Linked DNA regions of Homo sapiens: region 2 is linked to region 1. Evidence: promoter capture Hi-C in 16 types of primary human blood cells and fetal thymus (Javierre and others, 2016). All regions are on one chromosome and are shown on one strand. The core of a region is centred on a gene start or on the middle of the fragment in contact, and the rest is flanking DNA. Distances in the headings are between cores, read along the strand shown.

Evidence for each region. Contacts are between HindIII fragments. The CHiCAGO score rates a contact against its expected background, and 5 or more counts as called.
Region 2: a contact is called between a fragment that was not itself captured here and the fragment with the promoter of ARMC12 in region 1, in 1 of 17 cell types (naive B cells). The highest score is 5.3, in naive B cells.

The regions. Positions count from the first base shown.
Region 1 is chr6:35,735,020-35,739,485 of GRCh38, reverse strand. It overlaps ARMC12 (armadillo repeat containing 12), which reads right to left and starts at 2,454. Exons shown (of 6, transcript NM_001286574.2): 1 at 2,215-2,454; 2 at 1,314-1,459; 3 at 968-1,102. The coding sequence starts at 2,377. It overlaps LOC285847 (a long non-coding RNA gene), which reads left to right and starts at 2,539. Exons shown (of 10, transcript NR_027117.2): 1 at 2,539-2,645; 2 at 3,608-3,723; 3 at 4,122-4,406. RefSeq lists enhancers at 1-348, 957-1,565, 1,566-2,174. The HindIII fragment of the contact is 11,422 bases long and covers 1,008-4,466 here.
Region 2 is chr6:36,356,277-36,360,742 of GRCh38, reverse strand. It overlaps a transcript of ETV7 not described here. Among named protein-coding and RNA genes, the nearest start is that of BNIP5, 22 kb to the right of the region's middle. The HindIII fragment of the contact is 245 bases long and covers 2,440-2,684 here.

The sequences.
Region 1 (4,466 bases), core at 1,205-3,704:
TGATTTAGCAAGAGACAAAATAAGGGTAATCACCCCAGCACCTGGACCCATTTAGATTAAGTAAATTTACTGAGGCTCCAGTGGAAGGTCTTCAGGACTCAGACCTTAGTTATAAATTAAAAGAAGTTAATCACGTCTTTAGATGAATGCACATTTACACATAGACATATAGCTTAGAAGGTATATAAGTTCTGAAAAACTTTGTAATTTTGAGTTGGTCCAGCGATAATTTCCTGGCCTTCTCCCTGTAACCGGTTACAGAAATAAAAACTCTCTTCCTCCCCAGTTCATCTGCATCTCGTTATTGGGCCAGGAGCAATAGCAGCCCAGCCCTCAGTTTGGTCCAGGAACAGGCCTGGAAGCTCCGCGCCCTGACACCCTGCCCTATGTGTCTCCTCCGTTTAGCTGTTCCTGAGTTGTGTCCTTTATATAAAAAACCAGTAATAGTAAGTAAAGTCCTTTCCTGAGTTCTGGGAGCCATTCTAGCAAATTAGTAGATCTAAAAAGGGAGTTGTGGGAACCCCCGAATTCATAGCGGGCCAGTCAGAAGTCAGACCTATGATTGGTACCTGAAGTCGGGGGGAAGTCTTGGGGGACTCAGCCCTTAACCTGTGAAGTCTGCCCTAACTATGGATAGTGTCTGAACTGAATTGAATTGTTGAACACCCAGCCAGTGTTGGGAATTGGTGTCAGAAAAAACGTGGCAGTGGTAGGGAGCTTGTGGGGTAGTGGGGGTCCTTCTCTTTGGGGTTGAGAGATACCACTAGTGCCTCAATTCAGTTTCATCCTGAAATTCAAAGGCCTTCATGACCCTGCTGGGAATCTGACCACCGTTTTCCCACTTATTTCTGGGTTACAAATTCACACCCAAACAAACTTCTGGAACATGACCATTTATCCTATGGCAATTAAAGGACTTAAGGACTATAGACATCCTGCATGCCCCACCACGCATCCCTGGGCTCACCTGGATTTTGAGCCTGAATTTTCTGATGCCAGAGAAAGCTTTAAGTGTATTCAGAGCTTGGGTTTTGACACTGTTGTCCTTGTCATCCAGCATGTAGCCCAGCAACACGATGTCATCCGTAGTACAAGCAGAGGCCTGGAGTATTGGGGAGAGATGGAAGAGGCAGGAGAAGCGGGTGTTCTGGGCCCACTGCCCCCCATGTCACCAAGATCCCTCCGCACACCCCCCCCCCACCGCTATCAGCCAGAGAGAGGTCCCAGGATATAGTCTGGCCATTCCAGGGGCAGGGATCGGCCGTAACCCCCAGGGGCCAGGCCGGCTAGGGGGGACCTCCTGCTTCCCTTACCTCAGCCTCCAGCAAGTACACACAGCGAGTGATACTGTGCAGGATCATGCTCTTGGCATACTCATCCTGTTTGCACTCCAAAGAGTTGAGGAGCCTCCGGAGCTCACCTGAGTCCCGCCCGTGCCGCTCTCGCTCGACTGCCAGGCCTAGACAGCCACCCCAGCCCAGTTCAGGCTGTGGACTCAGAAGTGATGAAAGAATGGGGTTGGGAAGTAGGGGACAGGGACTTGGGGACAAGGCTGCCTTGCCTTTTCGGAGAAGCCTTCTCGCCATATGCAGGACCACCATGTACAGTTGAACGAATGTTTACTGCACAAGGGCACCCTATCTAATGTTGTATTGTCCATAACGTACCATCATAGATTTGTCCATTTACTCTAACAACTGTCTGGCATATGGCGGTAACAAGTAGTATTTCATCATAACCAGTATGTGGCAATGATATTCCAGCAGATGGCAATAAAGAGTCTTGCAGAAGGGGCTCATTTTCCTACTCTGCACAAAAGAACATGTGGACTAGTGGAAGCTCTGGGCATATAGTAAGTCCTCCAATCTTCCCTTTCCTTAAAGCCTCACGTTCCTAGGGCAGAAAAGGGATGGGGGGAGCTGCCGACACCAAGTTTCCAAGAAGTGGAATCCTGGGAGCCAGAGGAAATGTAGTATTTGGAGACCTGCCAGATGAGTCTGAGGATCCACTTGAGTGAGATCCAGGGACCCTGAGCTAGCATCTCTGGCAGGGCCTTGCCTAGGACGCTGCAGGGTGGGCTTGAGGAAGATGGACAAGAGAAAGACAAAGGAAAGAGGAACTTGGAGGCATCACCTTTGGGCCCTCCCACAGCAGAGGCCTCGGGAGCAGGTGCCTCCTGGGGCAGAGCCCTCTCCCCAGGGCCCGGACACTCACGGGCGATGCAGATGGGTGAGTTGCTACAGAGGGGTGGTTTGCATTTTATGCCAGCCTTGATGGCCTTGTAGAGCAGGTAGATCGCCCCGGCGCCTGTGGCCAGGCTGACTACGCTTTTGCGGATGTCCAGTTGCCCCAGGTATTGGGGGATGCTCTTGCCCATGTCTTCAGTGTTGCCCTGGGCCCAGGTGAGAGCTAGGCCCAAGGCACCTGTGGGGGGCCTTCCGGAACCAGAACTCTGGCAGGGTCAGGAACCAGGGTACCAGAATTGGAACCTAGGCAACAAAGGAAACTGGGGAGATAATGGGATGGAGGGCAGTGGTCAGGAAATGGGGCAGCCAGGAGTGCTCGAGAACAGATGGGGCCAGGCACCATGGCCCACACTTGTAATCCCAGCACTTTGGGAGGCCAAGGCAGGCAGATCACTTGAGGTCAGCAGTTCGAGACCAGCCTGGCCAATATGGTGAAACCTTGTCTCTATTAAAAATACAAAAAAATTAGCCAGGCATTGTGGCGCACACATGTAATCCCAGCTACTCAGGGGACTGAGGCAGGAGAATCGCTTAAGCCTGGGAGGTTGAGGTTGCAGTGAGCTGACACGCCACTGTACTCCAACCTAAGCGACAGAGCAAGACTCCATTTCAAAAAAAAAAAGAGAAGGTTCTGCTTTAGAGACCACAGGAGATGAAGCATAAGACAGAAGGGGAATAAAAGGGGAGAGGGCAGAAGTGTCCTTCACATCTCCTCTTCTTTAAGGGGGGACCCCAGCAGGTAGCTCCAGAGGCTGCCTTTCCACCATTAGAGGGCAGCAGAGGTCCATTTCCGGGCTGGGGCCTTAGGGCATTTCTGGGTGAGGTGTTTGGGGTATGCCCATTGACAACCCTGTTCCTTTTCTTTCCGGGCCCTCCCATATGTGATCTCTCCACCCTAGATCTACCCCTGGGCCTTGGGGTGTTTCTTCAGGTAGGGTTCCCTCCCCGCATCAGAGGATGAAAAGGAGGGGAGTATCTTAGAAAGCATGCACAGACTCTTGAGGCAAATCCACCCTTTTCCAGCATCTGCATGTTGCCCTGAAGTTTACCTGTTTGACAAAGTGCTCTTGAGGACAGCTACCTTTGCATCTCCAGCATAGAATCTTGTACTTAGCAGGTGGTTTAAGTCATGTTCTGCCATTCTTTAAGGACTTGGCGGCAGAACAATGACAGCATCTAGTAACTGGGGCTCCAGACCCTTCTAACCAGAGTGACCTTGGAGGAGAAAGGGATCGCCTTTGCCTTAGTCTGTTTCTGCATTTGTAACCTAAAGGGATTCGGATTTACCATTCTAAAACTCCAGGATTAAAATGTGGGTAAGTCTGTGCCTTTCAGCTAAATTTGGAAGTATCACCTCTCAGCCTCCCCAGGGATATGAGGCGGCTTGTGAGGTCCTCTGGAGTCAGAAGATGCCACCACCCCAGAGGATGTGAGCCCACCTGTGGAGGTCTTGATCCCCACCACTAGGATGGGGCAGGTGAGACCAGACCCTTCCCTCTTCCCCACCAGGGTCTCCCCGCAACTTCTGTCCCCACTCTCTGTTGCAGAACAGGCAAGTGGCCAGCTCCAAACTAGGGCCACGCCCACAGCCAGTGCTGAGCATGCTGCACCAGAACAGGTGTTCACCTACCTGGCCCTGATCCCTTTTTGGGAGAACTGGGACAGAAGGCTCTGGGTCCTGGGCTGCACCCAGGATGGAAGGAGGTAGGGAAACAGCATCTCCAATGATGCTGCGGCCAGCCAGGCCTGCCCACTCAGAGCCTTGGCCCAGTACACCCTAGGCAGCAGGCAGGGAACAAGCAACACTCCTGGGTGGCCATTCTATTCCTGTCCTCAGCCCTCCTCAAGGGTCATCATTCCTGGCACTCTATTTAGCCCCAAGGTGGGTGACTACATGAACTCCCTGTGGTGAGGGGTGAGTAGAAGCCCATGGAAGCCTCCCCACTGCCATGCAACCCCATCGCATCTCCACTGAACTCCGAGCAGAAAACGGCTGCCTGATGGGAACTGTCATTTAGGTTCCCAGGCTACTTTGGTGGATCTGAGAATAAATCCCTCAAGACAAGGTCCTTGCTCTGCCCTTCTCCAGGGTGGGACCCAGAGTTACTGGCCCCTCCATCCCATGGAGCCGATTCTGCAACCCTCACTTCCTAAGCACAGGTAAGGCTCACCTGTTCTTTAAAGACCTCCAAAAAGTGTTCTTTCTTGGCTGCAACCTAA
Region 2 (4,466 bases), core at 1,313-3,812, 620 kb before region 1:
ATGGGATTCTGGGCTGTGGGCTTCTCTCCACGGAAAGGCCTGCAGTTTAAAACCATGTCCACTAGGTGGTGCAAAAGCCTCTTTTTGTGTTAGTGTGGGGCCGGGCGGTGGCTGACTGAATGTTCTATGGACAGCAAGCCTGCCTTCTCTCACGGGGAGATGTGTACTCTCCAGCTCAGGCATGCTCTGTAAGTAGACATCCAGGCCCTGCTTGAACACCTCCAGTGACGGGGAACTCACACCTCCAGGGGGCAAAGTAAGTAGCAGGGGTGGGGGTGGAATTGAGGGGCACCATAAGCCAGCTGTCCGTTGATAGCATCAGCCTCCTCTCCTAACCCACAGGCCACTGGTTTCTGCAATTCCTATTTTCCCATTCTCTTTATTGGGAATAACTTCTTATCTCCTCTTCTTATGATCACTTTATCCTTGAGTAGTTTGTCAGCAGGGGCCTAGATGAGGCCTCTTACAGATCTGGGACATCTGCTAGGGGCATGTCAGAGCCTCTCTACCCTCACCCTACCCATGTAGACCTGATTAGGAATCAAAAAGACTGGCCGGGTGCAGTGGCTCATGCCTGTAATCCCAGCACTTTGGGAGGCCGAGGCGGGCGGATTACGAGGTCAAGAAATCGAGACCATCCTGGCCAACATGGTGAAACTCCGTCTCTACTAAAAATAAAAAAATTAGCTGGGCATGGTGGCACATGCCTGTAGTCCCAGCTACTTGGGAGGCTGAGGCAGGAGAATCACTTGAACCCGGGAGGTGGAGGCAGTGAGCCGAGATCGCGCCACTCACTCCAGCCTGGCATCAGAGTGAGACTCGGTCTCAAAAGAAAAAAAAAAAGGACTGAGGCTTCCTTAGTTTTCTACTGGCTTTAGTTACACCACCCTTCTAGGACTCACTTTCTACTTTTGTAAAATGAAAGACAACATCCTTTGCCCTGCTTAGCACATGGAGTTGAGAAATTTCAAATGAAATAATGCATTCATTTATTTAACATTCATTGAGCACCTACTGTAGGTTAAGCACTGTCTAGAAACAGGAATATTGTGGTGACCAGAACAGATAAATAAACAAATCAATACAGAATAAAATGGCAGGTGGTGATATGTACTATGAAGGAAAATAAAATAGAATCAAGTGAGAGGGGCCAAATTTAAATTGAGCTGTCAGAGATGTAAAAAACATGTGTAAGCAGGAACAAATCATCTTTACCTATGTCACTTTCTCTCCTGTAGTAGACTGTCCCCTTTCTTTCTTTTTTCTTTTTTTCTTTTTTCTTTTTTTTTTTGAGACTGAGTTTCGCTCTTGTTACCCAGGCTGGAGAGCAATGGTGCAATCTTGGCTCACCGCAACCTCCGCCTCCTAGGTTCAAGTGGTCCTCCTGCCTCAGCCTCCTGAGTAGCTGGGATCACAGGCGTGCACCACCACACCTGGCTAATTTTTGTATTTTTAGTAGAGACAGGGTTTCTCCATGTTGGTCAGGCTGGTCTTGAACTCTCGACCTCAGGTGATTTGCCCACCTTGGCCTCCCAAAGTGCTGGGATTATAGGTGTGAGCCACTTCGCCCAGCCTGTCCATCCCCTTTCTGTTTAATCTGCAGGTCACACCATGAAAGATGGACACTGTTGTTAGTTTGTTATGTGCAACCCAATGCAATCTTAATGGATATGAATAATGTAGACAGGCTGGGTGGAGAAGACCATCTTGGCCTAGAGCTGCCCCTCTCCCATCCTCTTCCTTTGGGGGAGCCATCAGCTAAGACCGAGATCACAAAGTCTCCTGAATAGACCTCAGTTCTCTAGATCTGGCCCATCTAAACATCCTAACTCAAGGAAGCACGGTGTATTGTTGAAAGTGCTCTGGCTGGAAAGCCCCAGAGTTCTAAATATGGCTCTTAAAATTCCAGCAATTCTGAGCAGGAAGAGCTTTCCCCTCAGTCACATGATCATATGCTCCAGCCAGTGACAAGCTCAGGTTCTCGACCTGTGGTGTGGGGTGGGGAGTACATATCAGATTCTCAGGGGACAGCTGATTGTGGGTGGCTGAACGTGGCGTGCAAATCTCTAGAGAGCTTCTAAAGCACCAACAAAGGCACTTTCTTCTCCACCACCCCCACAAGGGTCAGTGAGCTGACCCAGTGTTAGGGTTTGGGGGATGGGGAAACTGAACATCAGGGGGACCTTGAGATTCTGGGATTCTGGGCTTTCAGCCAGGGACCCTTCCAACCTTAGGAACAGAATATGCCAACTCTAGCCCTCTGCAAACTCTAAAGTGATTTGCAATAAGAACATTATTTTTTCCTGACTGACCAGTGAGTAATTTACCAAGCTGGGTCTTGATTGGCCACCAAAAGAAAAAAGGGCCTTTGACAAAGCAGGAGACCTGAACTAGAGCCAGCAGCAGAAGGCCCCCAGTGAAATGACAGAAACAAAAGCTTGGCAGCTCAACCACATCTTTATTTTGAGCAAGATGAAGTGCCTTTCTGACAATGCAAATTAATTCACCCAGCTTTTAAGTGAGGAAGACATGTCCAGATCAAAGTCCAGCTTCCCTTCTAAGGAGGCCAGCCCTACGTCATCTGCAGCTACTGTATCAGTTAGAGTCATGCTGGCCATAGCATCTCAACTGAAATCTCAGTGGCTTGATGTGATAGACATTCATTTTCTTGGCCACATAAAGCTTGGTTCATGGGTGGGGAGGGATCTTCCCCATGAAGTCATCTGGGGACCCAGGCTGATGGAGGTTGTACTGTCTCCTTCATGTGGTTTCTGTATGGGGGATTGACACCCAGCCCGCAGGTAGGGAGGAGAAAGCGTGAAGGATTGGGGAGGTGTTTTTTTGTTTGTTTTTGTTTTTGTTTTTGAGACAGAATCTCACTCTGTCACCTGGGCTGGAGTGCAGTGGTACAATTTTGGCTCACTGCAACCTCCACCTACCAGGTTCAAGTGATTCTCATGCCTCAGCCTCCCGAGTAGCTGGGATTACAGGTGTGTGCCACCAAACTTGGCTAATTTTTTATATTTTTAGTAGAGATAGGGTTTTTCCATGTTGGCCAGGCTGGTCTCGAACTTCTGACCTCAGGTGATCTGCCTGCCTTGACCTCCCAAAGTGCTGGGATTACAGGCATGAGCCAGCGCACGTGGCCGGGGAGGTGTTCTTATGGGAGGCGCCCATCATTTCTGCCCATATTTGTTGTCAGAACTCAGGCTTGTGATATTCCACCTATATTCCTTGCTCCTTTTGAGTGACTTTTCCTCTTATTTACACCATTCTCCACCCCTCTTCATCCTGCTCTGTGGCCAGGAGACTGTCCTGTATGGATTGCCCCAGTGGGCTTCCTGTCCTCTGGCTCCTGGTTGGTTTTAGTCAAGAAACTCTCTGGTCGGAGATTGCCAAGGTATTTTATTTCTCTAGTCCCTCCCTGCTGGCTCCCACAGGTTGGCTGTGTTCTCCTACTTAAGGCTGCAGCTTCTGTGCGCTGCCCTCTCTGTGCAGCCATATCCTTTCCAAGCTGTGTCACTGCTCCTTCCCCTGGACCTTTTAGGCTTTCAGTTGAAATCTGTTCAACTGACATTCAGCAGCCCTCTCAGTGGCAAATGGTATCTTGATTTTCCTGAGATACCTGGCTCCCTACATGTAGATTAAAACATAGGTTTCTCCTTGTGGATCCAAAAAAAAGAGATAATTTGTAATGCACTGTCTGCCATATATCTTCTCCCAACTTCCCATCAAAACTCCATGCTGGCTTCCAATCCTTTACAGCTGCTTCTTTGCGTTATGGCATAGAACTTTGATGAATTAACCTGTGATGATGTTTTCACGGGTGGTGATGGGGTCCCGCAAATTTCCCTCCATAGTGTATCTCCACTTGATACACACATCTTCACAGGACAATGCCTTAATCCTTAGGAGAGACTGGCTGTGAAGTAATGCAGGTGTCAGCCCAGCATTCCATCTACCATCCTCCTGGTAATAACTTTGTCTCTGGGAGTAACTCTTTTCCTACTCCATCACAGTGTCCTGCCCCCAGCAGTTGGGGAGGGCCCTGTAGCCCAGGCTGGGCCATTAAGAGAAGCCCATTTCCGTGGCCACAGCAACTGGTCCAGATGGTGCATGATCCAGGATAGGCCAATCAGGGTCCTTCCCTGGGATTTCTCTTTCTGTGTCTGGCTGGGAAGTTACCCCAAGCTAGTGGCAGCTGTGTCTTCTGCCATGAGGGGACACCAGAGGGGCAGAAAGGTGAGGTGAAGTCCCTGGAGGGTCTGGTCTCCACTTCTAATCTTGGGGCTCTCGGAGCTGTCATGATCCCTGCAGATCTTTCTTCAATTCTTTTTAAAAAATTGATATATAATAGTTGTATATATGTTTGGGATACGTGTGTTTGTTTGTGTTTTTTTTTGTTTTTTTTTTTTTTTTGAGACAGGGTCTCACTCTTTTACCCAGGCTGGAGTGCAATGGTGCCA